Regions from separate parts of the Homo sapiens genome. Here region 1 is linked to region 2. Evidence: promoter capture Hi-C in 16 types of primary human blood cells and fetal thymus (Javierre and others, 2016). All regions are on one chromosome and are shown on one strand. The core of a region is centred on a gene start or on the middle of the fragment in contact, and the rest is flanking DNA. Distances in the headings are between cores, read along the strand shown. Region 1 has its middle 3.1 kb from the start of TMEM87B. Region 2 holds the start of CKAP2L (cytoskeleton associated protein 2 like).

The links. Contacts are between HindIII fragments. The CHiCAGO score rates a contact against its expected background, and 5 or more counts as called.
Region 1: a contact is called between a fragment that was not itself captured here and the fragment with the promoter of CKAP2L in region 2, in 1 of 17 cell types (fetal thymus). The highest score is 7.4, in fetal thymus.

The regions. Positions count from the first base shown.
Region 1 is chr2:112,050,022-112,054,279 of GRCh38, reverse strand. No RefSeq gene overlaps it. Among named protein-coding and RNA genes, the nearest start is that of TMEM87B, 3.1 kb to the left of the region's middle. RefSeq lists a silencer at 1-19. The HindIII fragment of the contact is 755 bases long and covers 2,404-3,158 here.
Region 2 is chr2:112,759,896-112,767,426 of GRCh38, reverse strand. It overlaps CKAP2L (cytoskeleton associated protein 2 like), which reads left to right and starts at 2,818. Exons shown (of 9, transcript NM_152515.5): 1 at 2,818-2,865; 2 at 4,858-4,924; 3 at 6,663-6,714. The coding sequence starts at 2,829. RefSeq lists a silencer at 2,439-2,598 and an enhancer at 3,049-3,188. The HindIII fragment of the contact is 4,243 bases long and covers 1-3,531 here.

The sequences.
Region 1 (4,258 bases), core at 1,532-4,031, 710 kb after region 2:
GGAGATGAGGCGCAGTGGGGAGGCGGGGCTCGCCGCCAGCGAGCGCGAGTGTCAAGGTCCTGGAGTCGAATGCCTAGTAAGTGCTACGGTTGGAGTGCAGTCTAGAGTTCTGTTCCCAGGGTGTCTCCATTTCTTGCGTCTTCTACACTTACCCCTGCCTCGACCCTCTCAGCTGTATGGAAACCGTTCTTTAAATTCAGGGAATGTGCCAGGAAAGTGCTTTGAGGCCAAGGCCAGTTGAACACAAGGCATTGTGTTGTGAAGGTTAACGTTAATAGGACAGTTAATACTTTTCAGAACAAGTAGTTACTTGACTGGCTTAAAGCTCAGAGGGGTCAGGGCTTGGATCCGTCTTATTGTGTACCTTCCCTTGCATTTTCGGCTGTAAGCTGAATACATGTTTTGCTGTCAAAGAGAATTAGTTCATTCATTATCAAATGTAAATAATATCCAGCAAGGGAATAGAATCCTGTGCTAATATTGTTATTAACGTAGAATAAGATCGATTTATAGTCCAAAGGCCTTGGCTGCTTTACCAGTCACCAGTAATTATTGAGGACCTACTATACACTAGAGATTGCATGTGCATCTTCCCAGTAAGCAACGTGATCAGTTCTGTTTAGGTCAGAATAACTGTAACAGGACCACAGGGGAACATCCACCAGAGATTTAGGAAGTAAGTGAGGGACAGAAGGAGAGAACAATACATGAAATTTAAGTTCTACAAGAAGAGTTAAGGGCGAGTTACCTGTGGGAGTGAGGGGTAAGTCTGAAATCGTTTTAGTTACGAGAGAACTGGAGGAATGGAAAGATCTTCCAGATGACTGGATGTTGGTGTGAGACGGAGAGTGGCAAAGCTGGGAATATTTAAACAGTACCAAAACATACAGGCATTCCTAAATTAAGTTAGGCAGATGGCACCTTTAGTTAAGAACACTGGAGAGGCAATGATTTTTTGTTTTGTTTTGTTTTTGAGACTGAGTCGCGCTCTGTCGCCCAGGCTGGAGTGCACTGGCGCGAACTCGGCTCACTGCAAGCTCCGCTTTCCTGGTTCACGCCATTCTCCTGCCTCAGCCTCCTGAGTAGCTGGGATTACAGGCGCCAGCCACCACGCCAGGCTAATTTTTTTATATTTTTTAGTAGAGACTGGGTTTCACCGTGTTAGCCAGGATGGTCTCGATCTCTTGACCTCATGATCCGCCTGCCTCGGCCTCCCAAAGTGCTGGGATTACAGGCGTGAGCCACCGCGCCCGGCCCCAATGATGGTTTTTAAGTAAGGATGAGCTGATCAGAAAGATCGTGTTGGTTGTCAAATTGGGAAACAGGAGCATAGGAGAGCCAGGGTGACACCATTTTAAAAATAACTCCATCTTAAAACTAGCAAGGTACATTTCTTGCCAGTCACCACCCATGGTCGTAAGATGTTTACAGTGGCTGGGCACGCCTGTAATCCCAGCACTTTGGGAGGTCAAGGCGGGTGGATAGTTTGAGCTCAGGAGTTTGAGACCAGCCTGGACAACATGGCGAAATCCTGTCTCTACACGAAATACAAAAATTAGCCAGGTGTGGTGGCGTGCCTGTGGTTCTGGCTACTCAAAGAAGCTGAGGCGGGAGGATCACTTGGGCCTGGGAGGCGAAAGTTGCAGTGAGCCCTGCACTCCAGCCTGTGTGACAGAGTCAGAACCTGTCACAAACAAAAAAAAGAAAGAAAGAGAAAGAAAGCAAGAAAAGGAAAAAAAAAAAAGGAAAATGAGGAAGGTTAGAATGAACTATAATGCTGGCTTGCAACTGATGATATCAGTGTGAACTCATTTTTAAAATTTAGTTTTATAAATAGATGTAGATATGTGTGTGTGTGTGTGTGTTTATATTTTCTTGCACTGATTCCCAGGAGGACCTAGAAGCAGCGACACCCCAGTAGCAATAGGTACATCTAGCACCAGATCTTGCTTTATAAATATCATTCTCCACTAAAATAAACCAGGGATCCTTGGAGAAGTGGCTGAGCCCAGGAATGGAATAGAGAAATTCATGATGAACTTGAGAATCTTGTTTTGCCAGAAAGTAAGGAAGTGGGTAAAAAATTATGAGGACACGTCAAAAAGGCATAGGAGCCAGTTTGAAGGAGCTCCCTTCCACTTACCAGATCTGGGACAATTTGGTCACCAAAATGATAGTAGTGGATTGTAACTCATTGACTCAAATAGGAATCCATGAGTCTATACTAACATAAATAAATAAATGATTACATAAATAGGAAAGAAAATCACTTTCTTACAGTTGGAAAACTAATAAATGCAGAAGGAATAACAAATTTAAAATATCACCATTTGGCAACTATCACAATTAAAATTGATTCAGAAAGAATCATCAATTCTATTCTAAAGTTAGTTGGCAAAAGCTTCATGAGGAAATATCTTCCAAAAATTACTTATTAATTACAAAGAGAAAAACAGTAATTATACAGTGGAGATACCTGGCAGACACCAACTTAATGATCAAGGTTAATCCCACAAGGATTGGGACAAACAGACATGATATGTATCATGATTTGATTAACTGAAAAGAAACAGCATGACTTCTGTGATATTCCTGCCAAAAATGCATGCCCAAAATGCAAAAATGCATCTAATCAAGCTATTCAAGGAAATGAGGAAAAAATTCACATACTTAAATCTAATCACAAGGAAACATCAGACAACCCAAATTGAAAGACATTCTACAAAGTAACTAGCTGGTATAATTTACCAAAAAAAAAAAAAAAAAAAAAATATATATATATATATATATATATATATATATATATATATATATGCCAGGTTCTTGAAACAGCTGAGGAAGTTAGAGGTTAAAGGAGACCCAAGAGACATGATAACTAAATGTGACATATAGGCCTAGCAGTCTGGAGCCTACACCAGAAAAATTGTTTTTGCTATTAAAATTCTTTAGACAATTGGTGAAATTTGAACAAGGACTTTAAGAAAATGGTATTGTCAATGTGAATTTCCTGAATGTGAAAATGGCACCGTTATCACACTAAGAGAAGGTCCTCTTTCTAGAGAAAAGCACACTGAAGTATTTAAAGGTAAGCGGGCACCACATCTGAACTTATTCTTTGGTGGTTACAAAAAACTTTTTATATATTATATATATAAGCTTTATATATGTATAACATGTATACCATCTCTATCTATCTATCAAGATAATCTAATAAAACCAATTTGAATGAAGAGTATGCAGGAGTTCTTTGTATTCTTCTTGCAACTTTTCTTTGAGTCTGAAATCATTTCAAAAGAAAAATTTCCAAAACTAAGAAAGAAGGGGGTAATCACTCTGTGGTTCTCCCTGTATATATGTTAATAAAATTTATATGCCTTTCTAAGAAGGAGGAGGAGGAAGGAAGAAGGAAGGGAGTATCTCACACCTCTCACATCCCATATAGGGATCCAACTTGGTGTCCTCCACAGCAGATGGAAAATTTATGATTACTTGGTAAAAATAGATTGATAGTCAACTGATTGCCAGAGTGCTTTACTCATTCTCTTTTGAGTCTTATGGGATTTAGAAAAACAAACAAACAAACAAACAAAACAGCTACCATATAATTTTTAATTTGAAAAATTAAATCCTGGAGCAAACAAAAATTGTCCAAAGAACAAATAAGGAAAAATTTGGCAATAGTTGACTGTAAGCTAGAACTGAAAGGCCCCCATCAATAGACCAGTCCTTCCTCTAGTGGAGTTTATTGCAGCTGTTATAAAACTGAATCACAGTTCAGAGGTTGCTGTGCAGGGAAATGAAAAGGCATTTGAGAACACGAAGTATCATGAGATCCTGAATTCAGTGCTATTAATGAGAGACTTTGGGGTATGGCTAACACCAAAAATGAATAGATGCTATTTTTGCATAAAAAGCTGTACATTTGATTCATTGCTTTTAATTAAAATATTGGATTGTATGAGAAATTTTGAGAGTATCATATAAAGCACCTTTTCCACATACTTCCATTTGCCTTCATTTAACTTTTTCTTCCCTAAATCAAAACTGATTTTAGTTTTGAGTTGAGGCTTATGGATATGTAAACATAAAGGTTGTTTTTCTGATATTTCCTCTTCATGTGCAACTTATATATCACATAAATTGTAGGGACCAGCCCCACAGGGTCAGTGGGTCTCTCCCCGTGTGTGGAGATGAGAGAGTGTAGAAATAAAGACACAAGACAAAGAGATAAAAGAAAAGGCAGCTGGGCCCAGGGGAC
Region 2 (7,531 bases), core at 1,569-4,068:
AAGGGGAGAGTAGTGTGGGCTAAGGCTAAGGGAGGTGGCTAATGCTGAGGGAGTAAAAGGCCAAGCCCGCAGGGGCTTATAGGTCATTAGCCTGAGAGCAATGGAAAACCGTTAAAAGCCACCAGGATTGTCCTGGTGTGGTGGCTCACACCTGTAATCCCAACACTTTAGGAGATGGAGGCAGATGGATCGCTTGAGCCAGGAGTTCAAGACCAACCTGGGGCAACATGGCAAAACCCCATCTCTACAAAAAATACAAAAATTACCCAGATGGGTGACTGAAGTGGGATGATCGCTTAAGCCAGAGAGGTGGGGGCTGCAGTGAGCTGAGATCATGCCACTGCACTCTAGCCGGGCAATGGAGCCAGATCCTTCTAAAAAAAACAACACCAGGATCATGGAAAGCTACAGTGGATACTTTGATGAATGAGTTAAGAATTTAATTTATTTATTTATTTGGAGACAGGGTCTTGCTCTGCCTCCCATGCTGGAGTGCGGTGGCATGACCACAGTGCACTGCAGCCTTCAACTTTTGGGCTCAAGTGATCCTCCCACCTCAGCCTCCTGAGTAGAAGGGACTACAGGTGTGTGCCACCATGCCTGGTTAATTTTTGTAATTTTTTTTTTTTTTTTAAGAAACGAGGTCTTGCTATGTTGCCCAGTCTGGTCTCAAACTCCTAGGCTCAAGCAATCCTCTTGCCTCAGCTTCACAAAGTGCTGGGATTGATTACAGACATAAGCCACCATGCTTGGTAGAGTTGAGAATTTTTAAACCTGCCTAGCTATTTTCCCACATTTTGTGTCCTACAAAATAGACCGTCAAATACCCAAAGGATGGAAAAAAACGAGGCAGAACTGGCCTATGTTGCTCCAAAGGACTAGGACCAGTAAGCAAGGAAGCTCATTTGAGTTCATTTTAAGTTTCCTAATAAGCAGGGGTCTCCAATAACAGGACAGGTAAGGCAGCTCACCAACACCAGCAGTATACCTGCAAAGGTGCAGTACCTACATGGGGTCTGTGGAATACTCCAGCACTGCGTGGGATATCAGGCAAGGTGACTTCTACAACTGACATGCATTCAACCACCTAGATTCTACAAAGACCAAAACAAAACCGCCTTCACTTTTCTGAAACTGTTGGTGAAGGAGTCCCTTTCTCAGTCATTAACAAAAATAATGATCAGTTTTCCTATTTTAAACATTTAATACACTATTGAAAATATCAAAATGCATAAATCCAGAAACCCTGGCTCTCTTCCAAACTCCCTATTTACGGCTAAAGAGAAGGGCTGCTGCAGTGGCTTCATGCCCTGCTGAGTACCCAACTGGTAAGCTGAACCTGGCCAACAGGTGCCCAGATATGACTGCCCCTCCACACACGACTTCTCCAGCATCCATGGAAGAGGAACCTTCATACACAAGGAGCCAAAAGCATTTTCCAGACCTCTTTAAGAAACTGGAGAATAGATGAAACAGGACAAACTTCAAAAGAAAAAAAATTTAGGATTAAAACAAGGGGAATGAAGTGTGTCTAGGGATTCAGGACAACGAGGCCTGCGATCTCCTAGTAACTAGGAGAAACTAGGCCTGCGTTTCTCCGTTAGCCTTATGGCCTTATAGTCAGCTGATCAGGTGAAATCGAAAATATACCTTGAACAAGAGATCACCGTGAGAGGAGTAAGGCAGTTTCTCAAAAAATTAAAAATAGAATTGCCGTTTGATCCAACAATACCACTTCGTGGTATATACCCAAAAGAATGAAAAGGAGAGTCTCAAAGAGTTATTTGTGCATTCATGTTCATATTATTATTCACAATAGCCAAAAAGTGGAAGCAACTCAAGTGTCCGGAGAGGGATGGACCAAGAAGCAAAATGTGGCATCTCCACACAACGAAATGCTATTCCCCCTTAAAAGGAAAGGAAATTCTGACACATGCTACACATGGATGAACCTTGAATACTTTATGCTAAGTGAAACAAGCCAGTCACAGAACAAATACTGCATGATTCTACTTATATGGCACCTACAGTTGTCAAATCCATAGAGACAGAAACTAGAATGGTGATTGCCTGGGGCTGGGGGAGGGAGGAGTGCGGAGTTAGTGACGGGTACAGGGTTTCATTTGGGAAGATGAAAAAGTTCTGGAAAGGACAGTAGTGGTGGCTGTGCCACAATGTGAGGGTACTTAATACCACTAAACTGCACATTTTTGAAAAATTTAACACTTTAAAATGGTTAAAATGGTATATGTGATGTTATGCATATTTTACCACAATTAAACGAGCCACCCTGCAGTACTAAGAACTAGGAGCCTTTAGATGCATAAGACCCATATGTCCTCTTTATAATATTATTTTTTCACAGCTCCTGTGAGTCTGAGACTTTGAAAGGACAGAATCAGGTAGCGGCCCCAGCATCCTGGGAGGACCGCCCTGTCTCTCCGCCCAGGGACTCCCGGCGCGCCAACCCCAGCTGGATTCAGCGTAACCGCCCCCCAACCACCAGCCCGGCTGAGGCCCCCACGGAGGGTCCCACGCCCACTCGGAGGCGCACTCACAGGCGCACTCAGAGGCGGGCGGCGCCGCGCCCCGAGGAAGCCGCCCTCAATGCCGAGGTGCGCTGCACGTTCTTCCAATCAAAGGGCCCCAAGGTCGGGTTCTCAAGGCCAGAGCCAACCGCAAAGAGCCTATTGCCTGTTGTCCCGCCCTCCCGTGCTGACGACTAGCGAGTTTCAAACCCGCAGGAGCCAATGAGGACGCGTGGACGCGCGGCACGCCGGTCCTGGCTACAGGCGCGGCGTTTGAAGAAAAACTGTCACTGAAGAGTCATGGTGGGGCCCGGGCCTACCGCTGCTGCCGCTGTCGGTGAGTACGACCGCTGTTCCCGTTATTCTCAGGCGTTGGAACACGGCCGGGGAAGTAGGAGGCCACCGAGTGAGTTCGTCCCGCGGGAGGTGCCCGTCCGCTCGCCTGCCTAAGTTTCCCCTGGGCGTTTTCCATCCCGGGAGCGCAGACGGGACCCCCAGGTAGACGTCTGGGTCCTGGGCGGGGGAGGCTGTGCGCAGGCCCAGATACCTCACGGGCGTATTTCCAGAAAGCCCTGCAGCAGCCTTGCAAAGAGATGTCATTGTCACCACGTTCCGGATAAAGAAACTGAGGCCCCTTGCTCGGGTTTTCACCAGCAGTGGGAAGCTGCGCGCTGTTTTGATCCACATTTGGCTCCAGGCAGAGCCGGGCGTGGTCCTCTGTGCCAGGAGGCGGGGTCTGGCCGAAGCCCGGGTCTCCTGCCTCTGGCGGGGCTCTCACTCCACACCTCTCAGCCTGCGGTGGTTAGAAGTTGATTGGTTAAATCTGCACCCAGGGCTAAGGCTTCTGCGTTCCCTAATCTCTTAGATGTGCTTGGAGCCCTTTCCTACCTTTCAAAATACTCCTGCTCAGATGCCACTTTCTCCAAGATACGCACCGTTGTTTTGTTTCATCCATTATTCCTGTTGATGCCTACGAGGTCCTAGGCACTTTACATAACAAGCTTTAAAGATGGCATTTCTGTCCGCCTTATAGGCTTAGCAGCAGCAAAGTTTGCTAATTTGCTAGAAGTCACGGAGGTGGGACTCCAACCCCCTATGTCAGCCCCTACGCTCTACATTGCCCGCCAAGCTGTCTCTAAGGATAGATACATGAGCATCAGAGAGCAAAACAGGGCAACTCCGTTCAGATGAGGTTAAGAGTCGTTTGGCACCCCTGTCGTCTTTTTGTCTTCCTTCACATCATTATTTACTTTTAACCTTTTCTAGCCACCTACTCCCCTCATTTATGCCCTACCTCTGAACTCCCATACTTCTTTTCGTCTCTTATGGCCCTTAGATTTTACCTTATACTGTAATTGTTGCTGTGTTGATTTTATCTCCACTACTAGTTTGAAAGTTCTTGAAGGCAGAAATTATTGACTTGTCATCCCCTCACAAATGGCTTGCGTAGAAAGTCACCATAGTATAGGTGTCTGCCGTGAGCAGACCGGGCGTATTTTATCCTTAGTACCAACAAAGGAAGCCATATAAGGGTTTGTGGGTAAAAATCATCATCCCTGTAAAAAAACAAAAGACGTAAGACCAGGCCTGGCTCACCAGCTCAGGTGGGCCAGTAACAGAAATTCTTCAAAACAGACTGTTGTAGCTGAGAACAGTGGCTGTGAGCTCCAGGGTTAGAAAAGCCTGTTTTCAAGTCCTGGAATTGCCACATATTAGCTGGGTAACTTTGGGCATGACATTTACTCTCTCTGAATTTCAGATTGCAAAAACTCATTGGATTGTTTTGTGGATTGAAAGCAATAATGTAAATTTAGGCCGAGTGCTTTGACTTACGCCTGTAATCCTAGCACTTTGGGAGGCCAAAGCAGGAGGGTCACTTGAGCTCAGGAATTTGAGACCACCCCTGGCAACATAGTGAGATCCTGTCTCTACAAAAAATTTTTTTAAAATTATCCAGCATGGTGGTACACGCCTGTATTCCCAGCTACTCAGGAGACTGAGGTGTGAGGATTGCTAGAACCTGGGAGATCAAGTCAACAGTGAGCCGTGGTTGTGCCACTGCCCTCCAACCTCAGTGACAGAGGAAGACCCTGTCTCAAAAAAAAAAAAAAAAGTAGTAAGTTTAAAGAACTTAGTGTAGGCCTGGCATATAAATGATATTGTTGATGTTGATGTTAGCTTGAAGGCACATTTATAGGACTAGGGATTTTATAACATTATGTTGCAAAGGCAAAATCACTAGAGAAAAGTGTCATCTTTTAGAATATTAATGAACTGGTTAAAATCTTGAACTAAAGTTATGTCGTTTGTTTGCTTGCCTGTGTTGCAGAAGAGCGGCAGAGAAAGCTTCAGGAGTACCTTGCAGCCAAGGGAAAACTGAAGAGCCAAAACACCAAGTGAGTTTATCTGTCCACAGTTACGCAAGTTTTGTTGCCTTCTTTGTACTAGCAATTTAAAGCCTTTTTGAAAAATGTCCCTTTTGCTTAGAGTCTACTCAGACTGCACTGGGATTCTATGATAACGCAAAAAGAGCATTTCAGTCCAGGCATGACAAAAACCCCTGGGCAGTGCTTAGTCCATTGGCAAAGCTTTATGCATTATTACTGTGTGAATCTCCAAAGGAAGGAGGGAAGAAGGGTCAGTATTACCTACCATGCTGGAAGCTTTGCCTGTTTCTGCTTTTTTTTTCTTGGGGAAGTTGATTCTCATGAAGGCAGTTTTTGGTCAAGAACTTGAATGACCATGGTTCTGGCATTTCTTGCTAAGGCAGGAGAGCCAGTTACAATCAATCCTCCGTAGCAGAGTGATACCCTCTGCTCTTGGGTCATTCTCTTAGCATTTACTGTTAAGGTAGACAGAACATGTCCACTTCATTTTTATCCTTTGTAGATTCTTACCATCTTTGTCGTGTTATTTGTCCTTTCTTAGCATTAATTAATTTTTTCCCCATTTGAGTTGCTAAGTATTTATTTGAAAATTAATTTTTACAAAGTTAGCTTTCACCCTTTATTTTATCTTGGGTGTTTACTCACCTCTATTTCCTTGATTAAATGAACCTAATTCACTTATTCAACAAATATTTATTTAGTACCTATAACATCTCAGTCACTTCTGATGCTAGAGATAATGGCGCTTAACAAGACAGACATTCCTGCCCTCCCAGGGCTTATGCTGTAGATGGGAGAGACAAACATCAAACAAGTCATAATCAAAGTCCTTGTTAGTCTAGCAATTGTTTTTGGTCCATGCAGATTGATTCCTTCTAAATTCACCTCTGTTTTCCAATCCTTTTTCTGCATTTCCTGTCTCACTAGCTATATTTCATGTGTGTCTTGGTTTTTTTTTTTTTAATATTTCTTTACCCCCTTAAAGTTAGAAGAGATAGTATTTGAAGATACTGAAAACAAGGAAATTTTTTTTTTTTTTTTTTTTTTTTTTGAGACGGAGTCTCACTCTGTTGCCCAGGCTGGAGTGCAGTGGCGCAATCTTGGCTCACTGCAAGCTCTGCCTCCCAGTTTCACGCCATTTTCCTGCCTCAGCCTCCCGAGTAGCTGGGACAACAGGCATGTGCCACCATGCCCAGCTAATTTTTTTGTATTTTTAGTAGCGATGGGGTTTCACTGTGTTAGCCAGGATGGTCTCTATTTCCTGATCTCATGATCCGCCTGCCTTGGCCTCCCAAAGTGCTGGGATTACAGGCGTGAGCCACTACGCCCAGCCGGAAATTTTTTAAAGAAGCAGTTAATGGTTTTATTTGGCATTGTGTCTTCGGTGTCTGGCACATTGCAGTGCTCCAGGAATGATGTGTGAATGAGTAAGACTATATAAATATGAAGGAAACACATATATCTCATTAATATTGTGAGAATGCTAGATTTATGTATAGACAGTCTCTGTAAGGATCACAAGGCAAAAAAAAAAAGAGTAGGAGCAGTTGGTGGTCTCCAAGGGGGAGGATACAGAACTAAAGAAATGATGATAAGGAGACTTTATTAAATATAATTTTGAATTATTTTGCCATTACAGAAATTCTAATTATTTAAAATTCTATTCATAATTTTTAATCACTGTACTTCCCAAGCTTAGCTTAGAATCCTTCTGTGCTGAGGATTAATTTTAATTTGTCTTTTATAGGCCTTATCTAAAATCCAAGAATAATTGCCAGAATCAACCACCTTCTAAATCTGTAAGTAGAAATTAGTCTTTTTAAAAATATGCATTCATAAGTATGATTAGTAATAAAAATAATAAAGATGTTAGCAACCTAAAGAACATGTATTTGAAAGGTATTTCTTACAGATATAAAAACAGTTTGGTTTAATAAGAGACAATCATTTTTTGAAAAGTATGACATTTTTTGAAAAGTAGTTTAGTTTTATTAACCAAGAAAAGCCTCAAGTGAACTTTAGTCCTCTTGATAGCTAACATTTATTGAATGCTTACTGTGTGCCTGATACTTTTCTGACTTGCATTACCTCACTGAGTCCTCACAATCTTATGAGGCTACTATTAGTAGCCCCACTTTACAGATAAGCAAACTAAGTCACAGAAAGGTTAAATAGGTCGTATAGCTATTAAGTGACAAAGCTGAGAGCCTGTGATCTTAACCACTTTGGTATGCTGCCATGAAGTTAAATAGCTCAGTAGTCATTAAAAGAGAACATTTGCATTGAACCTTCCAAGCCACTTAACAAGTATATGCTTCCTAATCAATTTAATTTAGCTACATTAGATAGAATGGTAAAGGATCCTTAACTTAAAGTTTAAATGGAAGAAATTAGCCCTCTGAAAGAGGCACAGATTATTCATCTGCAATAAAAATCTCACCTTTAGTTTTTTAAAACATAGTTTTTATCTGTGTTCTGAAATGTAACTAAAACAGTGCTTCCTGAAGTGAAAAATTCTCACTGGTGAGAATTTTAATAAGTTTTAATGATTCACCAAATCACTTCAGTCATATTTCAGTCATATGCATATGCATATATAGACATATAAGTTTTTAT